Regions from separate parts of the Homo sapiens genome. Here region 2 is linked to region 1. Evidence: promoter capture Hi-C in human tissues and cell types (Jung and others, 2019). All regions are on one chromosome and are shown on one strand. The core of a region is centred on a gene start or on the middle of the fragment in contact, and the rest is flanking DNA. Distances in the headings are between cores, read along the strand shown.

Region 1 (4,726 bases), core at 2,165-4,664:
AGGCATGAGCCACCGCACCTGGCCATTTCTAGCTTTTGATTTAAAGGAAGAGATATGCAACTCTTCCTTTCACTTGAACACTTAGAGGCCATTGTAGGGTTATAATTTGGCCTAATTTCAATATCGTTGTGTCTCAGGGTATAGGGAAGCCCAAGGAGAGAGAGACAGGGGAATGCTGGTTGGTACAGCAGTCAGAGCATACACATTTATTGGTTAAGTTCACTGTCTTATGTGGGAGTGGTTTGTGGTACTCCCCCAAAATTACAATAGTAATGTCAAAGATAACTGATTACAGATCACTATAATAGATATAATAATAATGAAAACGTTTGAAATATTGCAAGAATTACCCAAATGTTACACACGATCACAAAGTAAGCACATGGTGTTGGAGAAATGGCGCCTATAGAGGCTGGATGCAGGATTGCCACAAACCTTCAATTTGTGAAAAATGCAGTATCTAGAAGTACAATAAAATGAAGCCCCAAAAAACAAGGTATCCCTAGATGGCAGTTTAGACTATGAATGTCCACCGGGCGCAGTGGCTCAAGTCTGTAATCCTAGCACTTTGGGAGGCCGAGGCAGGCCGAGCACTTGAGGCCAGGAGTTTGAGACCAGCCTGGCCAACATAGCAACACCCCGTCTTTACAAATTATTATTATTATTATTTGAAACAGTTTTGCTCTTGTTGCCCAGGCTGGAGTGCAGTGATATGATCTCAGCTCACTACAACCTCCATCTCCTAGGTTTGAGCAATTCTCCTGCCTCAGCCTCCCAAGTAGCTGGGATTACAGGTGCCCACCACCATGCCCAGCTGATTTTTGTATTTTTAGTAGAGATGGTTTTACCACGTTGGCCAGGCTGGTCTCGAACTCCTGACCTCAAGTGATCCACCCGCCTCGGCCTCCCAAAGTGCTGGGATTACAGGTGTGAGCCACCGTGCCAGGCCTACAATTATTAAAAATACAAAAATTAGCCGGGCATGGTGGCATGTGCCTGTGGTCCCAGCTACTTGGGAAGCTGAGGCAGGAGAATCACTTGAACCTAGAAGGCAGATTGCAGTGAGCTGAGATGGTGCCACTGCACCCCAGCCTGGGTGGCAGAGTGACACTTTGTTTCAAAAAAGAAAAAAAACTATGAAGGTGGAAGTTATTTCCTGGAGGCTGTGTAAACATAGAAGAGAAGGAGATCCAAGGACAGAACTGTTAGAATCCTCCCATTAAGAGGCAGGTTAAGATTCAACAGGGAGGTTAAGTAGGAGGAAATCCATGAGACAATAGTATCCTGGAGATCAAGAGAAGGAAGTTTTGACAAACAGGGTGCTGGGGACCAGTGTGCAGTTTTACACATTAAGGTTCATAATGATGCAGAGTGGTGTTAGTTGGGAAAGAATGGCTTTCCAGACAGGTCCTCATTGTGGAGCATTGCCCATGGTGAATTCTCCATTTGACCAAAGTCTGCCCCCAGAAATTCAAACTTCCCCTTCTGCGAGTGTCACTATCAGAAACAGATTCTTTTTATCCAAGGTCACATAGCCAATTTTAAAAAAAAGGCCAGATGTGGTGGCTCGCTCCTATAATCCCAGCACTTTGGGAGGCCGAGGCGGGTGGATCACTTGAGGCCGGGAGTTCGAGACCAGCCTGGACAACACGGCAAAACCCTGTCTCTACTAAAAATACAAAAAATTATCAGGGTGTGGTGGTGGGCAACTGTAATCCCAGCTACTTGGGAGGCAGAGGCAGGAGAATTGCTTGAACCCAGGAAGTGGAGGTTGCAGTGAGCCGAGATTGTGCCATTGCACTCCAGCCTGGGTGACAGAGTTGAGACTCTGTCTCAAAAAGAAAAAGAAAAAAAAGTTTTTTTTCTTTTTGTAGAGACAGAGATTTGCCATGTTGGCCAGGCTGGTCTTGAACTCCTGAGCTCGAGCGATTTGCCCGCCTTGGCCTCCCAAAGTGCTGGGATTACGAGTGAGCCACTGTGCCCAGCCACAGCCAATTTTCTTGAGGCTGAGTTTCATCATTAAGTGTATGTCTATCAGATTTTAACTCAAGTTCACAAATACATTGATATAGGACATATACTAGAACGTCAGTCAATTTATTAATAAAAATACAACTGTTAAATGCTTCAGTGGCCTAACTACTGCACTCTTCTTTCTCTCTGCAGTTCTGCTTAAGGGAAAGGCAAATTTTCAGTATGTTACTTTGTGAGTATAGAAGGAGAACAAATATGTCGTGGATCTTACAGTTTCTCAGCTAGCCCAGCGTGAGACATTCTTAAGGGATATCTTTGTCAAACAGTTGGCCTGTTGAACCCTTTTATTTTCAATACTTCCTTGGCTGACAAATGCCTTCCTTCGTTTCTCCAAAAGGAGTGCAATATTAACTCTTTTTGTTTTTCTAGTTGCAATTCCAGTGCAATTCTTCCTGTCTGAGATTCTACATCCTGGTTGAGTTTCGATGGTTTCCAAATTCCTTATCCAGGCATTTAGGGTCTTTCAATTGTTCCCCTGCCCCCAGAAATGCATTCATTTTCTGTGGCTTTTTACTAGTTTAACTTTTAGAGGGCAATCTTATTTCCAAGTTTCTGAGGGACACTTTGTTGGAACCAACAAACATTGCGAGTAACTATTCAGATATCAAGTAGAATGAGGATTCAGTAAGAAGCCGCAGGACTTGGCAAATAAAAAGGTCATTGGGGGAGCTCAATGCTAGCAGTTTCGGTAAGCTTGTGGGAGTGGACCCCCTGGGAGTGGACAAATGAATCTGAATTCCTTCGTTAGATATCTAGGAAGTGCTGGACCCTCAGAGTAAAATATAAGTAATTACAGACGAGATCCCTGCCCTGGTGCGGCTTATCTGAGAAGGAAAGGTGACCTAAAGTCACGACAATTGTGTAATGATACAGTTCATGTTGTTGAGGAACTGTACAGGGCTGTGACAGCCTTTAAGAGGTGGCTCTGGCCTAGTGTAGAGGTTTAGGAAGGAAAGGTTCTGAGGCAGAGACGTAGGACTGGAGATGTGAAGGCGTGGCAGAGTGGAGCAAGACTTTTGGCGTGCCCAAAAGACAGCCTGTGTGGCTACAGAGCGGAGAGCGAGGAGAACAGAACTAGGCGAGGATGGGTAAGTGGAAAGAGTAAAATAAAGCTCCTAGAACGAGGGGACCAGAGTGGACAGGAAAGGGCGGGGAGGGGCGGTTCCACTTAGAAACTACAATTCCCAGGAAGCACTCGGCAGCCACAAACGGATGTGAGGTGAGGCAGGAGCGGCGACCTTTGAAGGAAAAAAGGAAGTGTTTGGACGACAGCGAGCGGGAGAAGCGGGGTCAAGTAGGTAGGGGTGCGGTGCGGGAGGGGCAGGCGGGCTCCGGCGTGCGAGGGCCTTGGCCAGCGGAGCGTTTCGCGGCTCCGTGTCGTCATAAGGCGGCGGCCATTTTCGCGGGCGGAGGCGGCCCGGCGGGCCCTGGGAGAGCTGGGACGGGCGGCGGCCGGGTGGCCTCGGCCACCCGCTAATTGCATCTTTTCCCGGCGTCTCGTCTGCAGAGGGAGCACTATGTCTGCGGAAGTCCCCGAGGCAGCCTCCGCGGAGGAGCAGAAGGTGAGCGCGCGGGGCGTGAGCCCTGGGCCCTGCCCAAGGCCGGGTCTGGCGGGCGGCCTGCTCCCGCCAGGCGGAGGGCCGCGCCCGAGATGCGGGGCCGAGGCGCATGAGGCCGAGGCTCCTGCGCCCCACCTTTGGCTTCCCGCCGTCGCTGGCTGGTGCGCCGACGAATTGGGAGTTCCAACGTGCCCCGCGTTTACTCCGAATCGTGCCTTTTGTAACACCTCCGTGGGTCGCGGTGTTCCTCAGTCACTTATATTTACGCGAGAGCCCAGGACGCAGGCTTTGGGCGTAGAGCCTAAGTTTTTCTGTAAGCCTCAATTTGGTTAGGAAGTTTTATTTTTTCCTTTGAAGAACTCTCCAACTACTTGTATTGTGAGCGTGCGGTTCACTCCAAAAGCAGTGCCTCGTGTGCGGGCCGCGATGTGGGCCAGGATTGGCATTTCAGGGCCAACCCTTGTAACCATGGTCAGTGAGTAAAGTCCGGCCTTCAGTGTCTTCACCTGTAAAGGCCGAATACTGGTGCTTGCCTCCCACGGCGGGGTGAGGCCTAGAGGAGGTGAGTCAGGTGTAGTGTGCAGCGCAGTCTGTGCTCAAAAAGGTTTCAGTCGATGGGACTCAAATATGGTACTTGACTAAAAATCGAAAGGGTGGAATTTTAAAATTTTACTCACGAAATTAATCAGGGTTTTATTGGAAACAGGAATATTTTGTAAACGCCCTTGTGTCTTCCTGATGTAGGGGAATAGGCCGGGAGTGTCACTGTGGTTCAAATTATGAATATCAAGCCTTTGTATTTATCTAGGCTGGTGTTTGTCTCTCCCACTGTAATTATTTCCACCGCCCTGCCCTCCTAGGCAGGTGTGACTGGCCGAGAAGTGAGAAAGGGCCGAGGTATCTTGTCTCCTAAATTGTTTATCAACAATTTTTCTTACAAATCAGGTTGTGTTGCCGTTAAATACGATTTTGGTCTACTGCTTGACCTTCGTGCGGGTTTCTGCTTAATGTTGCACTTATGTCCTAATTAAGTTGGGAATTGGATTAGTGTTCTAAGCCCATTCCATATGTTCTTAAAACCGTGTTAACTTTTCTTAAGTTGGGTGCTTCTGTTAGGATGTTAAAGTAATTGA
Region 2 (4,712 bases), core at 1,078-3,577, 570 kb after region 1:
TCTACTAAAAATACAAAAAATTAGCTGGGTGTGGTGGCGGGCACCTGTAATACCAGCTACTCAAGAGGCTGAGGCAGGAGAATCGCTTGAACCCGGGAGGCAGAGTTTGCAGTGAGCCGAGATCACGCCATTGCATTCCAGCCTGGGCAACAAGAGCGAAACTCCATCTCAAAAAAAAAAAAAAAAAGAAAGAAAGAAAATAACTTTAAAAATTTGCCTGGGCCGGGCAAGGTGGTTCATGCCTACAATTCTAGCACTCTGGGAGGCCAAGGCGGGTAGATCACTTGAGGTCAGGAATTCGAGACCAGCCTGGCCAATGTGGTGAAACCCTGTCTACTAAAAATATGCAAATTAGCTGGGTGTCGTGGCACATGTCTACTTAGGAGGCTGAGGCAGGAGAATCATTTGAACCCGGGAGGCAGAGGTCGCAGTGAGCCAAGATTATGCCACTGCACTCCATCCTAGGTGACAAAGCAAGACTCTGTTTCAAAAAAAAAAAATTGCTAGGCACAGTGGCTCACTGTAATCCCAGCACTTTGGGAGGCCAAGGTGGGTGAATCACGAGGTCAAGAGTTCAAGACCAGCCTGGCCAACATGGTGAAACCCAGTCTCTACTAAAAATACAAGAAAACTAGCTGGGTGTAGTGGCGGGCGCCTGTAATCCCAGCTACTCAGGAGGCTGAGGCAGGAGAATTGCTTGAACCTGGGAGGCAGACGTTGCAGTGAGCTGAGATTGTGCCACTGCACTCCAGCTTGGGCGACAGAGTGAGACTTCGTCTCAAAAAAAAAAAAAATTTCCTGGCATGGTCATTCACACCTGTAATCCCAGCACTCTGGGAGGCTAAGGCAGGAGGATCACTTGAGGTTAGGAGTTCCAGACCATAGGGAGACTATGTCACTATAAGAAACTAAAAAAACTTAGTTGGGTGCAGTGGCACATACCTATAGTCCTAGCTACTTGGGAGGCTGAGGCAGGAGGATCATTTGAGCCCAGGAGTTGCAGGCTGCAGTGATCTATGGTCATGCCACTGCACTCCAGCCTGGGAAATAGAATGACACTTTGTCAAGAAGAAGGAGGAGGAGGACGGGCGCCGTGGCTCATGCTTGTAGTCTTAGTGCTTTGGGAGGCCCAGACAGGTGGATCGCTTGAGGCCAGGAGTTCGAGACTATCCTGGCCAATATGGCGAAACCTCGTTTCTACTAAAAATACAAAAATTAGCTGGGCATGGTGGCACATGCCTGTAATTCCAGCTATTCGGGAGGCTGAGGCAGGAGAATCACTTGAATCCAAGAGGTGGAGGTTGCAGTGAGCCAAGATTGCACCACTGCACTCCAGCCTGGGTGACAGAGCAAGACTCTGTCTCAAAAAAATAATAAATACATAAATAAATAAAAGGGGAATATTTCCACCAGGGGACACAGCCAAAGTCTCTGAATTACTAGCAAAAGCTGCCATCTGGGCATTGAAGACTCCTAGAATCCAGAGACAAGCAGGCTAGAAGTAGACCAACAATCTTGGCGGGGGTATTGACCCTGGTCATTAGAAGAGGTTAGGTCTTCTTCTGTTATACGATAAGGGGAAGGAAAAATGTTTCAGTGCTCTGAGGATCTGCTTGAATGCCTCTTGTTGTTATTCCCTTGCCTTGTTGTGAAGGTAAATGGATAATACAGCAACTCTGTCCTTAGAAAGGCCTGGTGACCAGAAACTCAGACCTCTCTGAGATGGGAATCTAAATCGCCTCCCCAGGTAAGTTACCAAGGCTGAAAGCGGTGGTAGCTGAGGATGAGAGGAATTTAGAAAGCCTGTAAGTTGTTTTTTTCCTTCTTTCTTTCCTTCTTTCTTTTTTTTTGAAACGGAATCTCACTCTGTAGCCCAGGCTGGAGTGTAGTGCTGTGATCTCAGCTCACTGCCACCTCTGCCTCCCGGGTTTAAGCGATTCTCCTGCCTCAGCCTCCTGAGTAGCTGGGACTATAGGCATGCGCCACCATGCCTGGCTAATTTTTGTATTTTTAGTAGAGACAGGGTTTCACCATGTTGGGCAGGATATTCTCAAATTCTTGACCTCAAGTGACCCACTCACCTCGGCCTCCCACAGTGCTGGGATTACAGGCATGAGCCACTGCGCCTGGCCTAGAAAGCCTGTAAGTTTTGATTGTGGCCCCAGGAACAACTATAGCGGAGGCAGCTATAGTTTGTCCTATAAGTCTTCCTTTTCAAAGTTTCCCCAGGGAGAGAGGCCTATCATAAATCTTGCAGGAGTTACTACTCAAACGTATATGAAGAAGTGGATGTGAAAGCAGCACAAGAATGAACACAGAGATGAAGCCACTGAGCTTCCCTTTATGGAAGGACTTCTTGTCCCTTCTACTTGGAGTACTGTCAGCAGACAGCAATCAGTCATCAACTCCTACAGCTGCAGAAAGCAACCTCACCCAAGCTCATGCCCTTTTGGGAACAGTCTGCATCCAGCAGCTGATCAAGGTATAATTTGGAAGTCTAGCCCTTTCAGGCTGGTTTGGGACAATGCCCAAGGGTCGCTGTAGCTCCAGAGCTCCTCATGAGGTCAGCTGAGGCTGCTGGGCCTTCCTTACATACAGTTTACTTTTCCTTCTGTCTAAGCCTGCTTCCTCCTCTGCCCTGGCACAGGTGTCGATCCCAAAGACACTCCCTAGCAAACATCCTGGACACTAAACTCTGACTCAGAGACTTCTTGCAAAGCTTAAACTGTGAAAATGCCCCATCATGCCCAAATACTTTAGTATTTCTTGCTAATAAGCATATTCCTCCAGCACAATCATCACAATCAGCAATGTTCAGAAATGATGGTTGTATTTAGTTATTATAGGTCTTCCGTCTTCTTCAATCTTGAATGGTTCCTTAGACTCTTTTACTTCTATGACTTTGATACTTTTCTAGATTACAGGCCATTTATTTTTATAGAATGTCTTTCCATGTAGGCTTGTCTGAGGTTTTATCATGATTAGATTCATGCACCTTTGGCAGAACAATCAGAGAATCAACGCTGTGTTCTTCCAATAGCATGATGTCAATTTGTCCCATCACTGATGTGGCTGATTTTGATCACTTGAATAACATGGTGTCTTCCAGACTTTTCCACTGTAAAGTTACTCTTTTTCTCTTTGTACTTAAGTATTTTGTGAGGAATACCTTGAAGCTATGTAAATATTCCATTCCTCATCAAACTTCCAGTTTTAAAAAAAATCTTTTTTTTAGATACTGGGTCTTGCTCTGTTGCCCAGGCTGGAGTACAGTGGCACGATCATTGCTTACCACAGTGATAATCATGATGAAACCTCAGACGAACCTAAATTAAAAGACATTCTATAAAAATAAATGGCCTGTAATCTAGTCTGAAATTCCTGGGTTCAAGCAATCCTCTGTCTCAGCCTCTGGTATGAGCCACCATGCCCAGCATCTGCCTCAGCCCGGGAATCAGCCATTCTCCAAGGGGCCCTGGTTCCTTTTGGTGGAGAATGGTATTTAGAAACCAAGAGCTGGCCAGGCGCGGTGGCTCACACCTGTAATCCCAGCACTTTAGGAGGGTGAGGTGGGCAGATCACCTGAGGCTGGGAGTTCGAGACCAGCCTGACCAACATAGAGAAACCCCGTCTCTACTAAAAATACAAAATTAGCCAGGCATGTTGGCGAATGCCTGTAATCCCAGCTATTCGGGAGGCTGAGGCAGGAGAATCGCTTGAACCCAGGAGGTGGAGGTTTCAGTGAGCCAAGATCGTGCCATTGCACTCCAGCCTGGGTGACAAGAGCAAAACTCTGTCTCAAAAAAAGTATAAATAAATAAATAAATAAAAAGAAACCGAGAGCTAAGCTGGGCATGGTGGTGTGTTCCGGTAATCCCAGCTACTTGGGAAAGAGAGGCAGAGGATTCTTCAGTCCAGGAGTTTGAGACTAGCCTGAGCAACATAGTGAGACCTCATGTCAAAAAAAAAAAAAAAGAAAGAAAAAAGAAAAGAAAGAAAAGAGAAACCAAGATCTGGGCATTATGTGTACGCATTGCTATTAGGTGTCACTGTTCTCAGGCCCTTTTTGTGGACAGAGCTAGGGAATATATGAAATATATGTATGTGTGTACATATATGTGAGCATTTATATATATAAACTTTTACATATACACACATTTACATCTATATTTATTTCTACATCCATCTATCTATATTTAAAATTATGAATTTACACTAATACCTTTCTAATCCAACACCAAATAATTCTTCTAGTTTTTTCACTTTCCACATATGTAACTCCATTTCTGCCAGTGAGAAACTTGATTCCTGCTATCCTTAACATGATGACTTATTTAATCAATCCTTCCATTTGTAAACAATCTCCTGGGTCTGTCTGTGACATCGTAAGGTATATATTTTGATCTTCATTTGCAGTTCCTGATGTAGCGCTCCTAAAAACCCTTCTAATTTCCTGAGCAATAGTGGTGCTAGGAGGATCTTTTGTTCTAATATTTGGTCTTTGACCTTGGTTCCTGACTCAGAGCTCCCAAGACTTGTGTAATTTCCTGAGTGACAGGTGCATATGATACAGAGCTCCTAAAGATCCTTGGAAATTCCTCTGATTGGTGCATCTTTTTCTAATGAGGTAACTTTTGGTACACTCCTGAATAGCCTCAGAATGGGAGCTGGTTGCCAGGGGAACCAACTATGTGATTGGAGGGTTAGAAATT

What was found. The method cuts DNA at HindIII sites, captures the fragments that hold promoters and counts their contacts. A contact is called where the count stands out against the background at its distance.
Region 2: a contact is called between a fragment that was not itself captured here and the fragment with the promoter of ARPP19 in region 1, in 1 of the 25 tissues and cell types used here (dorsolateral prefrontal cortex).

The regions. Positions count from the first base shown.
Region 1 is chr15:52,567,718-52,572,443 of GRCh38, reverse strand. It overlaps ARPP19 (cAMP regulated phosphoprotein 19), which reads left to right and starts at 3,414. Exons shown (of 3, transcript NM_006628.6): 1 at 3,414-3,596. The coding sequence starts at 3,552. RefSeq lists enhancers at 2,885-3,014, 3,068-3,814, 3,815-4,563 and silencers at 3,485-3,544, 3,615-3,714. The HindIII fragment of the contact is 6,620 bases long and covers 1-4,726 here.
Region 2 is chr15:51,993,066-51,997,777 of GRCh38, reverse strand. It overlaps a transcript of MAPK6 not described here. Among named protein-coding and RNA genes, the nearest start is that of LEO1, 24 kb to the right of the region's middle. The HindIII fragment of the contact is 6,257 bases long and covers 1-4,712 here.